Regions from separate parts of the Homo sapiens genome. Here regions 1 and 2 are each linked to region 3. Evidence: promoter capture Hi-C in 16 types of primary human blood cells and fetal thymus (Javierre and others, 2016). All regions are on one chromosome and are shown on one strand. The core of a region is centred on a gene start or on the middle of the fragment in contact, and the rest is flanking DNA. Distances in the headings are between cores, read along the strand shown. Region 1 overlaps LOC124904413 (a long non-coding RNA gene). Region 2 overlaps LOC124904413 (a long non-coding RNA gene). Region 3 holds the start of SF3B4 (splicing factor 3b subunit 4).

Region 1 (2,807 bases), core at 140-2,639, 110 kb after region 3:
GGGCAAGTGACTTAACCTGTCTATGTCTCAGCTTTATCATCTGTAAAGCAGAGATAGTGATAGTACCTATTATTGCTATGAGAATTAAATGAGCTAACATATGTGAAGTGCTTAAAACACTCTCTGGCACATAATAAGGTCTATGTTAAGTATTTGCTATTATTGTTTTGGCAAATATCCTTCCAGATAGATAAGACAGACCAACAGAGAAGAGATATAACTATAAACACACATACTTTAAAAAGTATTGGAACCATTCTTTACCTATGTTTTCTTATTTGCTTTTGTCACTTAAAAGCACACCATAAGGCCAGGCACGGTGGCTCATGCCTGTAATCCCAGCACTTTGGGAGGCTGAGGCGGGTGGATCACTTGAGGTCAGGAGTTCGAGACCAGCCTGGCCAACATGGTGAAACCCCGTCTCTACTAAAAATACAAAAAATTAGCTGGGCATTGTAGCACACACCTGTAATCCCAGCTACTCAAGAGGCTGAGGCAGGAGAATCGCTTGAACCCGGGAGGCGGAGGTTGCAGTGAGCCGAAATCCCGCCATTGCACTCCAGCCTGGGCAATAAGAGCGAAATTCTGTCTCAAAAAAATAAAAGAAAAAAAAAAGCACACCATGAGGCCAGGCATGGTGGCTCAAGACTGTAGTCCAGCACTTTTGGCGGCTAAATTGGGAGGACTGCTTGAGCCCAGGAGTTCCGAGACTAGCTTGGGCAACATAGCAAGAACCTGTCTACAGAAAAAAAAAAAAAAAAAAAAATAGCCAGGTATGGTGGTGCATGCCTGTAGTCCTAGCTACTTGGTAAATTGAGGTGGGAGGATTGATTGAGACCAGGAGTTTAAGGCTGCAGTGAGACATGATCTTGCCACTGTACTCTAGCCTGGGCGACAGAGCAAAATCCTGTTAAAAGAAGAAAAGAAGAAAAGAAGAGGAAGAAGAGGAGGAAGAGGAATAAGAAGAAGAAGAAGGAGGAGGAGGAGGAGGAGGAAGAAGAAGAAGAAGAAAGTATACCATGAGTATCTTCCCACATTTTAAAATTCTTCAACAGTAGATGTTTCAAACTGGTAAACCTGTGGATAGAATTTAATCGTGTCTTGGCCAAAACAGTATTCTTTTATAATGTAAATTAATGCCTCCACGTGGAATATAAACTCTCCAGTTCACCACCGTCCTCACCAATCCCTAGTGTCTTCACACATATACTTTACTTGCTAAACAACTGAAGGCATTTGAGTTTTTAACCCCCAACATAATTTTTAGTAACTGCATATTATCTTATTACATGACTAGGACATTCTGTAATTACTCAGTTTCCATTGTTAGACATTTAACTTTTTTTTGACCCACTATTATAAATAATGCTGGGAAGAACATCTATAAATCTTTGTTATACTTATTTTCTACATCTCTTTTCCTAAAAATAAAAATGCTGGGTCAAAGTCTGAATGCGTTTAAGACCTTTAATATGTATTGCTCAATTACCTTATAAAAAAATTGTACTACTGTACATTTCTACCAGCCCACTTTTCTGACGTTATTGATATCTGTATTATCACTTTTAAAACTTTTGCCCAAAAAATCTAATAATAAAATAATATACATCTTTTAAATATGGCCTTTTGAGGACAAAATATTCTTCCCTCCAGCCTCCCAAACTCATTCTTTTCCCTGCTGCCCAGACAACTAAGTGAAATAGTTGGAGGAAGGCAATAATCCTAACTATAGCCATCAATATTATCCTTAACATCAACACTTCAATATTATCCAGTGTCTTTATGTCACAAAGAACTTGCCAGTGGTAAAAAAGAGGAGTTAAAATATAGGATATTTTTAGTCTCTGCTAATCTCTACCATGTAGTGTTAACAGTAACAGTAGTTATCATCTACTGCTCATTTTACTATGTTTAAGCACCGTAGCAAGCATTTTGCCTTCATTCATCCTCACAACAATACATACTAATATTATGACATATTATCAATATTAGTATGTACTATACATATTAATAATTTTTTTTGAGATGGAATCTCGCTGTCACCAGACTGGAGTATAGTGGCGCGAACTTGGCTCACTGCAACCTCCACCTCCCAGGTTTAAGCGATTCTCCTGCCTCAGCCTCCCAAGTAGCTGGGACTACAGGTGTGCGCCACCACACCCAGCTAATTTTTGTATTTTTAGTAGAGACCAGGTTTCACCATGTTGGCCAGGATGGACTCAATCTCTTGACCTTATGATCCGCCCACCTCAGCCTCCCAAAGTGCTGGGATTACAGGCGTGAGCCACCGCACCCAGCCTAATAATATTATTTTAAGAATTATAATGGACAACACTGAGGATCACACAGGTTAAGGAGACTTGTTTAAAGTTACATGATAAGTGGCAAAGCCAGGATTCAAGCCCAAGCTAGTTTAACTCCAAAACCATGACATTAGAATGTCTCTAAGCAGTTATTACTAATAAATCTGTTTCATTTAGTACTTTTAATTTCTCAAAAGACTTTCATATACATAGTTTGGCCCTAATAAGTCTGTGGGATATGATTAAAGGTATTGGGATCAATTCTAGATTAGGGAACTAAGGCAAAGTCTGCTCCAATATAATAATAAACACATGTCCATTGCTGCCTATTAGGGTCATAACCAGCACCATACCTGCAGTTAGAACTCAAAAATTACTCACATAAGCACTTTAAGTTAGATGTAGATGACAGCCCTATAGATATCACACACACATAGTTTCTGCTAGCTGCAGCAAGAATGCCAGTGACAGAATTATGACAGGAGTTCTGGCCAACTCCAACCC
Region 2 (2,781 bases), core at 143-2,642, 120 kb after region 3:
TAGGGAGCATTCAATTAAACATTCACATAATAACTACACAATTATTCTCTTTACTTCTTTCCTACTTTAAGCCTTGATGCCATCACTACTTCCAGAAAAAAAAATAGTTCCTAAATATCCCACAGAAGAAAACAAGGTAATGTTAATATAAATACTCTGCCCCTACATTTATGCAGTCTTCCCTCATATTTTTGATAAATTCCACACCCTTCCACCAGAAGTTAAAGAAAGGAGACGTATCCTCCCACTTTCGGAAATGCTTTAACCAAAATTAAAGAGAGAATGAACAAGCTATCCGTAGGAACCCATTCATCGATAGAAAGGAAAAACATTTCCTAAGAAATGTCAGAGACAAATGACTCTGGATCTAACACCATTTGGGGGGTTTCATACCATTGCTAACACAGAGACATAATATTATTAGATTTATATTAATAAGGCTGAGTGTAGTGGCTCATACCTGTAATCCCAGAACTTTGGGAGGCCAAGGCAGGAGGATATCCTGCTTGAGGACAGGAGTTCAAGACCAGCGTGGGCAAAATAGTGAGACCCGATCTCTACACAAAATAAATAAATAAAATTAGCACAGTGAAAGGATTGCTTGAGCCCAAGAGTTCAAGGCTGCAGTGAACTATGATTGTACCACTGCACACCAGCCTGGGGAAGAGAGTAAGACCTTGACTCTTAAAAAAAAAAATTGTATTAATACACTACTTCCAGAAATTAAACAAGACATACACAGTATGTGGATATAAACAAAGAAAATGATTTCCATGTACAAAACATAAAACTCATAGATTAATAACTCAAGTTTCCTAGTCTATTTTCTTATTTTGTTTCATTAAAAAAAAAATTTGAGACGGAGTCTCACCCTGTCACCCAGGCTGGAGTTCAGTGGCATGATCTCAGCTCACGGCAACCTCTGCCTCACTGGTTCAAGCAATTCTCCTGCCTCCGCCTCCTGAGTGGCTAGGATTACAGGCGCCCGCCACCACACTCGGCTAATTTTTGTATTTTTTTTTCAGTAGAGATGAGGTTTCACCATGTTGGCCAGGCTGGTCTCGAACTCCTGACCTCAAGTGATCCGTCTGCCTCAGCCTCCCAAAGTGCTGGGATTACAGGTGTGAGCCACCATGCCCCGTCTACTTAGAGGTCTAGTAAACTTAAATCAGTTCTGAAGCTTTTCCAGACAGTAGTAGTAAAATACACTATAAATCAGATTACCTGGTTCTCAATTCAATGTTCTTTTCATTCTGTCATGCTGCTCTCTAAATTTGAGTGTTCTCTTGACCAGGAATTAAATTATTCTCTATATCTGAGTTGAAACTACTATATCACCAGGAAATAAAAAAGTCTAACTTCCCAATATTATTCCTAAATTAAATCGTGGTTAGTCAGGATGTTGCTATATACTTTTAATAATAACTGAAAATTGAAGCAGAAAAAACCCCAATTCACTATGACTTGTATATTTTGTGCCATGAACAGAGGAAATTGTCATTTACAGTATAATTTTCTGGGCATAGGCATGGATTCCGGTGTTCACATCCCCAAGTTCAAATCTCAGTTTTGTCACTTATTAGGGGACATTATCTTAATGTCTCTAAGCTTTTATTTTCCTTCTCTCTCTCTCTCTTTCTTTTTTTTTTTTTTTTTTTGAGACAGGCTGATTACAGGCTCGACCTCCTGGGCTCAAGCAATCCCCCTGCCTCAGCCTCCCGAGTAGCTAGGACCACAGGTGCAAACCACCACGCAATTAATTTCTGTATTTTTTATAGAGATGGGTTTTACCATGTGCTCAGGCTGGTCTTGAACTACTGGGCTCCGCCTTGGCTTCCCAAAGTGCTGGAATGACACAAATGAACCACCGTGCCCAGCCCTATTTTCTCATTTTTAAAAAAGAAAGGTTATTGTTTCAAAATATGTTGTACATGAGGCCAGGTGTAATGGCTCATTCCTGTCATCCCAACACTTTGGGAGGCTGAGGCAGGAAGGTAGCATGAGCCCAGGAATTCAAGACCAGCCTAGGCAGAACAGTGAGACCCCCATCTGTACAAAACTTTTAAAAAAATTCTCCAGGCATGGTGTTACGTGCCAGTAGAGGCTGGAGGGTCACTTGAACCAGGGAGGTCAAGGCTGCAGTGAGCCATGATTGCGCCACTGTACTCTAGCCTGGGCAATCCAGGGAGACCCTGTCTCAAAAAAAAAAGCATGCTTTACATGATAAATATTACAATTTTTGCCAATTAAAAATAAATATTTATCTCTCATATCCCAGGAAATCAAGTAAAAATAAATAAAAGAAATAAATGAATAAAATTTAAACAATAAAAAGAAGATAGCACTACTACTTATGTCTTTGAGTTGTGAGAAAAATGCACAGAAAGTACTTAGCACATGGCCTAACACATATATATATTCATAGTGACAGATACACTACTGTCAATTGCAGTCAGACATGAATGGAAATCATAATCAGATTCTCACCTTTCAAACTTTAGATGTGACTTCATAGTAATTCAACAAATCTTCCAAGTCCAGAACACCTGTTGATTTGAATCTTACAGCAATTACTTTTATCTAGTCTTTAAGAAATGAAAAAATAATGTAACAGCAAACTCATGCAGTGACTCAATAAATTTAAAGCCATAAACAGGCTAAATCCAACACTAAACAAGCATTTTGCAATCTATTTTAGCCAAAACAATGCATTTTCCCTCATTCACATAACAATTACTCAGTATGCCAGCTCCCAGTGTTACAGAGCCTGTTCTTGGTGAT
Region 3 (2,783 bases), core at 1-2,500:
CATAAGATACGGTGATAGGACGGTTACAGAGGTACTGCCCATTCATGGCTTCAATTGCTGCATCCGAAGCATCAAATGAAGCAAAATTAATAAAGGCATAACCTTTGGAGTTGCCTGTGTCAGGGTCCCGCATAATTTTGGGGGTTTGTAAGATGACCCCAAAGGCGCTGAAAGTATCATAAAGCAACTTCTCATCAATCTCAGGGTCCAGGTTCCCAATGAAAATGTTGGCCCCTACATCCAGGTTTTTGTTGTGAGCTGATGCTTTGTTCACCCGTATTGGCTTCCCATAGAGTTTGATCATGTTCATGATCTTAATGGCATAGTCAGCATCTTCCTCACTCAAGAATTCCACAAAGCCATAGCCTGGAAAAGTGGAGAAGAGGAGGTTAACAACGTAAGTAAAGAGACTGAAAATGGGGTAAAATTCATCTACCCTCTAATCACAAAGAACAAGAAAGAAACAACATCACTTTACTTAAGAATGGTTCCAGAAATAAACTGAAGAGAGGCTTAAAAGAAAAAAATCTTTAGGTTGCTCATGTTATTCCAAAACAGTTGTGAATACTGCTGGGACCCTCCGGGAGCAATTCGCCCCTTGTCATGTACTCACCTTGGTGCTGGCCAGTGACTCTATCCTTTGGCATGTGGGTGTTGACTACTGGTCCAGCCTGGAGAAACAGTTCCCACAGCAGCGGTTCACTAACCTTCTCATCCAGGCCCCCCACGTACACAGTGGCATCTTGAAGGGAGGGAGCAAAAAGAGCAAGCGTGAGAGTGTAACGGGAAGGAAGGAAGTGATGGAAACATGAAGATGGAACCCAACCAGGGGAACTGGGGACCGCGGTAGGGGACAGGAGCAAAAAAAAAAGTTTAAACCCTTAAACTTCTCTCTTCCCAGGACTTCGGGAATCCTCTGAAGTCTAATTTAGTATTGTGAGTGGGTTTTTTTGATTTTTTGAGTGAGAAGTCAGCAGGGGACCGGACTTAAGTATCACACCCAGAGGCCTCAGCCAGCACCCGGCCACCCCGCCCCCAACAGGCAGAGGGCCGGTCTCGCGCCCTCTGGGGAAGGGAGGAGTCCAGTCTCCCACCCCTGCAGAGACACTGCTGGCTGTAGTCGGGGCCTCCTAGCCACGCTGAGCCCATTCCAGACTTTCCCCCTCCAGTTACCCTGATTCCGCTCGGAGATCGGCCCGGCAGCCATGGCGAAAGAGATCCCGCCGTCTCCCAGCAGCGGTTCCGCCTTCTGACCTCAGCACGACTTCCACTTCCGGGGCGAAGACGGACGTAGCGGTGGGCGGGGCCGCGGAAGAGGAGGTGCCTGGAAGCGGCTGCAGCCATCTTAGGAGCCTCCGAAACTTAACCTGGGTCGGGCGGTAGAGTCCTCGGCTCGCGTCCTGAGGTGCCGCTGCTAGTTGTCTTAGCGAGGAGGGCGGAACGGAAACGCTCAGGCCCTCTTAATGCACTGCTAGACTTGAAAGAATCACACTGCTCTCAAAAGTGTAAATTCGAAAGCTAAAAGAACAAAAATTTCAGTTTTAATATATTTTGTGGACAGTGATTCTTCTTCTGTTGTCCAGAGAAGGATGTGCTGAAGAGTTCCCCCCAACCCGAGGACTTGGGGGCTTTCAGGCGCAGAGGGAGCCTTCCCTCTCGCCTGCAGCCTTCTTGCAGATTTGGCCTCACAACCCTGATTTGGGCTGGAGGTATTTGGTTTTCCCTCAGGGGAGGAGACTGCGAAATGTCTGAGCTTAGAGTGACGTCTGCGCTCACCTCGTCCTAATTGCATGGGGAGGGTGAGGGCTGCTCCGCGTTGGTGTGTGACCACAGCTGAGGGGTGGATGGGATCGGAGCTCTAGAGTCTGGATCTCTAGAACACTCTGGCCCCATCTGCCTCTAAATGGGAGACACACACAAGAGAACCCTTTCCCCAAATTGCACTTGAATTTTGCAGAGCCTCACCAAACCCAGTTCCCCTATTTCCTTAGCAATAATATGGTGGATGCCTTCCTCTCTTGGGTCATACACCCCTTTTACCCACCACTTTCCTACCTAGGAGAATCCTTTATTCAAACACAAGAAACAATGCCAGCAATGTGTATAAATACTATGCTTTAATGAGCCCCTTAAATAGAAATTCCACTACAAAAATACAGAGGAGATAGGGTGTTTCCTGTATCCGCCTCATTCCCATAGAAAACTATAAGGGAAGAAATAGAACTTGGAATTAAAGCAGCAGCAAGGCGAGGTGAGAATGCGATTTCTAGGCCATCTTGTTGGGACTGATGAACAGCATCTCTGATCTCATGATTTAACATCTGGTTATCCAGAAGGGATGGGATTGGCCTAAAAAAACCGATCAATTTCTGGATTGTTTTTGTTTCTTAATCCTTCAAATGACAAGAAGCAAAAATATTTGTAGAAACTAAGCAAGACAAGAGTTGGAGCAGTTAACACCACTATCTGCAGCAGAAACTCAGACCTTCTTAGTGAACTTAAGGGCTGAAGTGTGAAAGCTGAGGCTGCAAGTGCAGATACAAAAAAAAAAAAAAAAGATTAGACAGAACCCTCCTCTACCCCAGATCCCCCTCTGCCCTGCCTTTGAGAATGCCAGCAATTTCAGTGGGATTGAGAATGGTATGTGGATCTCTTTTCTTGGAGTGATCCTCAGGAGATATTCTTGGTGTCCATTTCCGTAATAACTCCTGAAGATGGGATAGCTCATCCTGGAGGCCAGAGATTGTGGGAGCTGAGAGGCCCATCTGGGGAGGAGGCAAAGA

The links. Contacts are between HindIII fragments. The CHiCAGO score rates a contact against its expected background, and 5 or more counts as called.
Region 1: a fragment that was not itself captured here is called in contact with the fragment with the promoter of SF3B4 in region 3 in 2 of 17 cell types (M1 macrophages and erythroblasts); the score reaches 5.7 in M1 macrophages.
Region 2: a fragment that was not itself captured here is called in contact with the fragment with the promoter of SF3B4 in region 3 in 7 of 17 cell types (erythroblasts, M1 macrophages, endothelial precursors and 4 more); the score reaches 9.8 in erythroblasts.

What each region holds. Positions count from the first base shown.
Region 1 is chr1:150,031,721-150,034,527 of GRCh38, forward strand. The region is part of intron 1 of LOC124904413 (a long non-coding RNA gene); the gene reads left to right. It also overlaps a transcript of OTUD7B not described here. Among named protein-coding and RNA genes, the nearest start is that of OTUD7B, 22 kb to the left of the region's middle. The HindIII fragment of the contact is 2,863 bases long and covers 1-2,807 here.
Region 2 is chr1:150,047,995-150,050,775 of GRCh38, forward strand. It overlaps LOC124904413 (a long non-coding RNA gene), which reads left to right. Exons shown (of 3, transcript XR_007066598.1): 2 at 72-136. It also overlaps a transcript of OTUD7B not described here. Among named protein-coding and RNA genes, the nearest start is that of VPS45, 18 kb to the right of the region's middle. The HindIII fragment of the contact is 428 bases long and covers 1,179-1,606 here.
Region 3 is chr1:149,926,553-149,929,335 of GRCh38, forward strand. It overlaps SF3B4 (splicing factor 3b subunit 4), which reads right to left and starts at 1,251. Exons shown (of 6, transcript NM_005850.5): 1 at 1,174-1,251; 2 at 614-742; 3 at 1-366. The coding sequence starts at 1,207. It overlaps MTMR11 (myotubularin related protein 11), which reads right to left. Exons shown (of 17, transcript NM_001145862.2): 17 at 2,099-2,765. The coding sequence ends at 2,577. RefSeq lists enhancers at 1,048-1,427, 2,562-2,631. The HindIII fragment of the contact is 3,542 bases long and covers 1-2,783 here.